Linked DNA regions of Homo sapiens: regions 1 and 3 are each linked to region 2. The links are contacts of gene promoters, found by promoter capture Hi-C in blood cells and fetal thymus (Javierre and others, 2016). All regions are on one chromosome and are shown on one strand. The core of a region is centred on a gene start or on the middle of the fragment in contact, and the rest is flanking DNA. Distances in the headings are between cores, read along the strand shown.

Region 1 (2,700 bases), core at 181-2,680, 2.6 Mb after region 2:
CACTGGGCTTAACAAATGTTTACTGCATGCATTTTGAGGCAAATCTTTAAAATGTCATATTAAGAAGCTTTTCAGACATGTCGGTTATGGATTGAATTGTGTCCCCCTAAAATTCACATGTTGAAGCCCTAACTCCCAGTACCTCAGAATACAATGTTTTTTGGAGCTAGGACCTTTATAGAGGGAATCAAGTTAAAAAGAGGTCATTAGGGTGGGTCCTAATCCACCCTCATGGTCTCTTCACAAGAAAGGAACTGGGATCACAGACATGAACACAGGGAGGATGGCATGAAGAGACATAGGGAGAAGACAGCCATCCACAGCTAAGCAGAAAGGCCTGGAACGGATTCTCCCTCACAGTCCTCAAAAGGGACCAACCCCGCTGACATCTTGATCTTAGACTTTCAGGCTCCAGAACTGTGAGGCAATAAATTTCTGTTTTTGAAATCACACAGTTTTAAAGCCACCCAGTTTATGGTACTTTGTTATGGCAGCTCTAGTAAACTAATACAATATCCAGAAGTAGAATTATATAATGAAATCTCCCATCACACTCACCACTCAGATCTTTCACTCCGGCATACTTCATTTCGTATTTCTAAAATATATGGACATTTCCTTACATAACAATACCCTTATCAAACCTAACAGAATTAACACTAATTTAAAAGCAGATTTAATTCCCAGAAGAAATAAACCTTATACTAAAACACACACTTACATTCCTCCATTAAAACTATTAACACTTTTAGGCCGGGCACGGTGGCTCATGCCTGTAATCCCAGCACTTTGGGAGGCCCAGGTGGGAAGATCACTTGAGGTCAGGAGTTAGAAAGCAGGCTGGCCAACATGGTGAAACCCCATCTCTACTAAAAATACAAAAATTAGCCAGGCATGGTAGCGTGGGGTCCCAGCTACTCAGGATGCTGAGGCAGGAGAATCACTTGATCCTGGGAGGCAGAGGTTGCAGTGACCCGAGATTGTACCACTGCACTCAAGCCTGGGCGACAGAGCAAGACTCTGTCTCAAATTTAAAAAACAAAACAAAACAAAACAAAAGCTATTAATACTATCAAAAACAAAACACCAATAAGCTTGAATTTTTGTCAAACAACCCTCAGAGGATAAGCAAGACTCTCAGAATAATTCAATTTCCTAATCAGCTCTCATATTCAACAATTTCCTGAAAGTAAAAACCTATGTTTCTTTATTCAAGTACAGAAAAGAAAGGAAGAATGCGGTCAGTATTCATACCCACTCCGTGGTCACTGAAAATGCACTTTTCAAACTAATCCCAAGAAATTTAGTAGACATCATTAAGTCTTTAGTTTAAAAACAGTACGTGCAATGGTATTGTATGTTATATTGCACATAATTTAAGCGCATGAAAATTGACATGACAGAGCTCAAAACCACTACCAAAAAAAAAAAAGATAAATACAAAACCATACCTTTACAGGGTAGAGAACCGCTTGTTATGATTTTCTAAAACGTTAGAGACTGGAGTTACCAATGCTTCAACAATTGACAACTTCCAATCACATGTCCTCTTCAGGAAGGTTACTTTTTGTCTAATGTTAAGACAAAGAGAAATGTTAAAGTCAGAATGGCCTACTTAAAAAGTTTTTCAAAAGAGTCTTTGGAAAAGCAGTTCGCTCCATCAACTTTCAAAACAGGCATCGCTGTAAAAACCCACAATCCAGCTAATTAGTCTCAGCTGTTTGTCATATGGCACTGCAGACCAGTCAAGTGATTTTTGCCCCTTTCAAGCTTACCAAGTTCCAGTTCGACTGGCCACTCAGAGGGCGGCTTTATTAACCTCTTCTGGTGTTAGAAGACTCTGCACTTCAGCTCTTTCTTCCGCCCACCTACCCCGTGAATCAAAACAGTAGAACATTTGTTTTCTTGAGAAAGTGCCTTGTATTCTCAAGGCCCTTAAAGGTTATATTCATATTGTTGCTTACAAATACAATGCCTGATCCAAACAAACAATATGGGGGATCAAATGGAAGTGGCAGGAGGGATGGGGCTAGATTACTTACCAGACCTTGCAGCTGGCCTCCAATTTCATAAGTAAAACTGCCTACAAGGGAGTCCACCCAGATATCTTGCTGGCATCTCAAATCCAGCATGTCCCGTACTCACCTCCTTTGCTTTTCTCCACAACCTTGCTTCAAACCCACTTCTCTTCCTGTGTCTTGAATCACACAATCCCAACACAGCCAGAAATCTGATGGCTCTCATTAACTCCTCCCTCTCTGCCCCTCCCACTTCCAATTGGCCACCAAGTCCTAAGGATATTCATCTTCTTGCTCCTACTCCAAGTTTTTATTATTTCTTAGATGGCTATAATAAACCACTTATTTGGTTTTCTGGTCCCCACGTATTCTTGACTCTGATCCATCCTCCACACCACACCCAAAGTGATCTTTCCAAAAGGCAAATGAGAGTCCATCACTCTCCTGTTAATGGCTCCCCACAATCTCCACAATAAAATCCCTGCTCCTTAAGCTTCTGCCTTCAGTATCACCGCCTCCTTCCTATAAGCTGCTAGAGTCCAGCCATCAGTACGTTTTATAATTCGCTAAGTTAAGTGGTTCTCAAACTGTGGTTCCAAGACCAGTATTATAGCATCTTCTAGGAACTTATTAGATTTGCACATTCTTGGGCCCACCCAGCTGAATCAGAAATTCTGAGGAT
Region 2 (2,700 bases), core at 75-2,574:
GTGGGTTCTTTCAACAGGCTCGCCGCTGATTCTACGGCTTCTGCTTCGCTTTCAAAATGCTGAAAGAGACAAAAATAAAATTAATCTGGCCCTATTCTAATACCCGGACCTTGCAAGTAAACTACTGTTAAGTTAGGCCTCTTCCTGGCACCAACTGCGGTGACAGCACCCTCGGCTGGTCTGAAAAAAGCAAAACTCTCTGCACCGCCTCCCCCATCTCCTCCGGATCGAGCACCCCCTTCCCTGCCTCTGTGCTCTCCAGGCCAATGTGTCCTTCTGACACAGTCTCTGAACCAAAACAGGATCTATTTATAACCTGGAGGTACAGGCAAGAAGAAGAAAAAGATTTGAGCAACACAAACTAACCCCTTCGTACAAAAACGCCTCTGGAAACAGAGGCACCTCCGCAGGGCTGGTATGGAAATTCTTCCACCTGGTGCCTGGGCGCAGCCAACTCTTCCAGTCCCCTGCGCCTCCCGAGCCCTCCGCCCGCCCCGCCGGGCCTCACCTGTGTAATTACCCTCTGGCTAGCCTTCCTGCGGCAACCGCGGCCAAGTTTACACAGAAACCCGAGTCACCTCCTCCCGCCCAGCCCCCAGCCCCAAACGAACTCTTCCGGGCTGTCCCGGGGCGACCCTACCAACTCCCAACCAGTCCTCCGCGGCCGGCTCCGGGGGAGGTGTTTACAGCCTGTGCTCGCCCCCTGCTCTGCACAACCCCTTCCGTCCCGCCGCGGCCCCGGATTTCCTTCAGCCCCGCCGCACCGAGCGCCGCGTCTGCCCCTCTCCCCGCTGGAGAGTTGTTTTCATGGCGCTCTCGAGCTGGCCGGCTCCTCCGCTCCCTCGGCCGACCTCTGCTGACTAACTCGCTCTCCTCTCCCGTCCCAATCCCGCCTCCTCTTGGCACTTCTCTCCACCGCTCGCCCAGCAGCTCACATCACACTCCCACCTCAGACCCCAGGCTCCGAGAGGCGCAGGGCCAGCGGGAGCGGAGTATGGAGCGCAGCGGCCCCCGCGGCTGCCTCAGGTGACCGTGGGGACCCGAGACGACCAGCCCGAAGCGGCTCCCCGGCGCCCCTGTGGCCATCCACCCGCGCCTCAGCCACCGCCTCGCTCCGCTCCCTGCGCTCAGCCCCTCCGCCCTGCCTGACTGGCACCCGAGCCCCGCGACCCCCGGGCTTCCCCCGCCCGTAGCCCCGGCCGGCCCTCTTGCCCAGCGCCTCTGCCAGCTCCTTGCCCGCCCGCTGTCTCTAGCTCTGGCGCCCCGGCTCCCCGTCCCCCTCGCTCGGCCAGTTCTTTCTCTGCTGTTTGCCCTGTCAAAACACTGCCTAGGTCACGTGTCCCAACAACAGCCAACCCACCCCGGTCGTCACTTCCTCCCCGGCGGCCTCCGCGGCCCTGGCGCCCGGTTACTATGGCAATGCCGCCGCTCGCCCCGGGGCGCTAGTTTGGGGCCGGGTTTTCGGTGCAGGTGCCCGGCGGGTGCGAGGGCGCTGGAGATGGCGGCTGGGAGACACCAGCAGAGTCCCGGAAGCCCGAGACGTCCCAGGCACTTCGGTTGCGCTCCCAGCCGGCAGAGGCGCGCCTGGATTCTGAGACCAGGAATCGGAGCTGCGCTATTAGAGCGCAGGGTAACTGGGGAGATGTCATCCAAAGGCCTGCCCCAGACGTGGAGGATAATTATAGTCGTCGTCTCCTCCTCCTCCTCCTCCTCCTCCTCCTCCTCCTCCTCCCCCCTCCCCCTCCTTCCCCCCCTCCTCCTCCTCCTCCTCCTCCTCCCGGGATGCTGGCACAGAGTTGTGATCGAGCCCCAAGTGGATTGCAGCGCATAATGGAACCCGGGTTTAATGTGACCGGGACGGGGGGTGGGCAGCTATGCGGGTCAGGGAGTGGGAGAATTTAAGAACAGGAAGCCCACCCCCACCCTAGATTTTCCCAAATCACTAAGGATTTTAGTAGGATTCAGAACCCAAGCTTCCAAGACACTCGCTGTGCTAAAAATAATCTTCATAACTTCTAAAACACTGACTCATGGGCAGGAGGACACTTTGACAGCATGTTATTGTTGGGGAGCTGTAATTTTGTTGTTGTGCTATAGCAATGTGACATGATGGCATTTCATGTTGTGATGTTGTCGTCATTTAAACACAAACAGATGACAGGAATCTGCTGTACTTAAAAAAAAACCCAATCCTAACAAGCGCTGCAGCTATTAGCTACTCAGTCTATAGACAAAGTACATATGGGGCATGAGCCCAAATGGAGACAAGTAAAAATTTGCAAGGCTCTTTGGTTTCATTAGAAAAAGTTTTTTTTTTAGATATAATTTTGCATAAAAGGATCACAGGAAAGTATTAGGACAAGTCTAAGGGGATTTTTTTTATTTGTGCCCTTCTGTTTTAAAATTTTTTTTACAATGAGTCTATTATTTTCACATCAGAAGAGTTTTATAAACTGCAAGATTGGCAGTTCCATTTTTTTGGCCTCAGGTAAAGTTCTTATGAAAAAGGCATGAAATATTTAAAAAGTAACATTTTCTAGTGCTTAGATATGTACAGTAAAATAACATGTACAACTGAAATTGTTAACCTTAACTCCACGATTGTATCTAATCAGAGCGGAGAGAACATTCAGGAGGGTAACATTTCATTTTCTCTGAAATGTTCTGGCATCATGACGATGAAACTGACAAATGGAAACA
Region 3 (2,700 bases), core at 199-2,698, 2.7 Mb after region 2:
TGTGCCACCCTGCCCAGCTAATTTCTTTTTAAGAGTCGGGGTCTTGCTAGTTTGGTAGGCTGGTCTCAAACTTCTGGGCTCAAGTGATCCACCCACCTCGGCCTCCCAAAGTGCTGGGATTACAGGTGTGAGCCACTGTACACAGCCTAAAGATTATTTTATTAAAGGACTGAATAACCAACTATATAAGGGAGAAAGTGTAGGATAGCTCACAGGTTTCTGGTTTAAGTGACTGGGTAACTGGAAGAATTCTATATGAAACAAGAAGTAGGTGAGGGCTTTGTGATAAGAAAAACTGGCTGAAGCCTAAAAAGCATTCTTTCTCCACTGTGTGAAAGCTTCCCTCCTTCCCTTTGCCTGCTCCCATCTTCTAACAGATTACAAAAAAAAGTAAAATACATTACTGACTTGGGACAACTTACCATACTTGAATTTCTCAAATCAATAAGCCCACTTTAATCAGGCCCCAGTTTAATGCTTTGTTTACTTCCTTCAAGGAAAGATAACATTGAAACCAGCCAATTATCCCACAGAACTGATCTTTATGGTTTCTCTGAATAAATACAGAAATTGATCCTCACAGTCTTAAAACTTGAGAAAGTTCTATTTGTGTTATCTAAGCTCCTTTCTTAGGAAACAAACCATCAGGCCTCCTAGATAGTATTAAGAAGCTGAAACTTACTTAACAGATCACTGCAACTGGACAATGAGAAGCCAGAGCCTGCATGATTGCTTAACTGACCACCTGCTGCCTGTTGACCAACTTCTCTTCCTCACCCCTCTCTAATTCCTGTTTGCCCACACATGGTTACATTTCTTCTCTGCTATATAGACCTCTAATTTTAGTCAGTCAGAGATGGATTTGAGACTGAGATGGATTTGAGACTGATCTCCCATGTCCTTGGCTGCAGCACCCAATTAAAGCCTTCTTCCCTGGCAATACCCGTCTCTGTGATTGGCTTTCTGTGCGGCAAGCAGCAGGACCTAGACCAAACCCCTGGTGTTTTGGTAACACCATCCAGCCCAAAAGAGAAAAAGATTTCCCGCTGGCCCTAACACCACCATGACAATTTGGATAAGCAAAACTAACAGGCTTACTAAAGAACCCTATTAATTCAACTGTTCTCAAAATGTTGGGCGTGTACTACAATCAAAGGAAAAAAAAAAAAGTAACTTTTTAAGCCCTATCCTAGACACAGTGAATATGAAAGCCCCCTGGCAGTTTGAACCTCCCCATTATAGCTAGAGATCTTCAAATGATAATCTCATTATGTAATTCCTTTAAAATGTTAAGATTTTCTTCAAGATAATGCCCCAAAGCCTTGAATATCAAGTATTTTATCTCTAGCTCTCATCTCTTTTAATTCATTCCCGCTTTGCCCAACCTTCTCAGTTCCCCTCAAAATGCTTGGCTTTGTCTTTACTCCAGGGCTTTACATATTCTGATCAGTTGCCCATCCCCTTTACCTCCACCGAAACTCCTCTGCTTGTCTCAGCTAACGGTTCATTTCCTTTGAGAACCATCCCTTGACCCCATCCCTAAGACTCTTATTATTTTCTGCATCTGGCACTTAATATAGAATATTGTGCTGTAATTGCTTGTTTACCAGCCTATAATGTATTCCCAACACATATTGAATGAATGCTAAATACATATTAAGCAATCAATAAACAAGAAAGGTAACCACGTCTGGGTGATAGTGCAGTTAATTGTTCTTTACAGAACTCAAAATTAGGCTGGGTGCGGTGGCTCACACCTGTAATCCCAGCACTTTGGGAGGCCAAGGCAGGCAGATCAGGAGGTCAGGAGTTAAAGACCAACCTGGCCAACATAGTGAAACCCCATCTCTACTAAAAATACAAAAATTAGTCGGGCATGCTGGCGTGCGCCTGTAGTCTCAGCTACTCAGGAGCCTGAGTCAGGAGAATTGCTTGAAACCAGGAGGTGGAGGTTGCAGTGAGCCAAGATCGCACCACTGCACTCCAGCCTGGGCAACAGAGCAAGACTCCACCTCCAAAAAAAAAAAAAAAAAAGAACTCAAAATTCTGGAGAAATCCATGAGCTTCCTCTCCCATTAATCTGACCATTGGTAAATGTATAAACCCTCCCCATTTTAAGAGCTTTACTAATAGTAATTTAGAAATAAGCAGAATTTACAGGACAGTTACAAAGGCTAAGAAATCATACGGTTATAAAAAGAAGAATACTTTGTGAAGACAATAAACTTGAAGCTCTGTTTAGGCTCAGGCTTCCTTTTATTCCTCAGAGTAGTTTCTTTAACTCGATCTCTAGTCATATATTTCCAATTGCTTTTGATGTCCCCTTGCAGGTTTCTCAAGTGTTTAACACACAACAGCTACAATACTGAAATCATCTTCCTGCTGCTCCTATTTCTGCTAACTCACAGAATTGCAGTAGCCAAAAACAATACAGCCATTACAAGCAAGAGTCACCACACATTCAGGTCAAAAACCTTAGACTTATGTCGACAAAAACAGTCAAACCCTGTAAAATATTTGAGGAGATTTATTCTGGGATAGATTTATGCTGGGATAGAGAAGCTTAACTCTAAAAACGATGGTCAGGGCAAGCTTCATTGCTGAAGTATATGTGAGCAAAGATTTGAATGAGTGAGGCACCATTATATACAGTTAACTGGAGGAAGAGCATTTAAGAAATAGTAGCTATAAAGCTGAGAT

The links. Contacts are between HindIII fragments. The CHiCAGO score rates a contact against its expected background, and 5 or more counts as called.
Region 1: a contact is called between a fragment that was not itself captured here and the fragment with the promoter of ATOSA in region 2, in 1 of 17 cell types (M0 macrophages). The highest score is 7.4, in M0 macrophages.
Region 3: a contact is called between a fragment that was not itself captured here and the fragment with the promoter of ATOSA in region 2, in 1 of 17 cell types (M0 macrophages). The highest score is 5.4, in M0 macrophages.

What each region holds. Positions count from the first base shown.
Region 1 is chr15:55,268,714-55,271,413 of GRCh38, forward strand. It overlaps RAB27A (RAB27A, member RAS oncogene family), which reads right to left. Exons shown (of 7, transcript NM_183235.3): 2 at 1,452-1,571. Among named protein-coding and RNA genes, the nearest start is that of RAB27A, 20 kb to the right of the region's middle. The HindIII fragment of the contact is 676 bases long and covers 1,093-1,768 here.
Region 2 is chr15:52,678,064-52,680,763 of GRCh38, forward strand. It overlaps ATOSA (atos homolog A), which reads right to left and starts at 1,325. Exons shown (of 13, transcript NM_001385016.1): 1 at 765-1,325; 2 at 1-59. It overlaps LOC105370821 (a long non-coding RNA gene), which reads left to right and starts at 1,542. Exons shown (of 4, transcript XR_932255.4): 1 at 1,542-1,630. RefSeq lists enhancers at 21-90, 221-360 and a silencer at 941-1,260. The HindIII fragment of the contact is 2,387 bases long and covers 1-1,971 here.
Region 3 is chr15:55,394,139-55,396,838 of GRCh38, forward strand. All of the region lies in intron 1 of CCPG1 (cell cycle progression 1), which reads right to left. All of the region lies in intron 8 of DNAAF4-CCPG1 (DNAAF4-CCPG1 readthrough (NMD candidate)), which reads right to left. Among named protein-coding and RNA genes, the nearest start is that of CCPG1, 13 kb to the right of the region's middle. The HindIII fragment of the contact is 2,224 bases long and covers 337-2,560 here.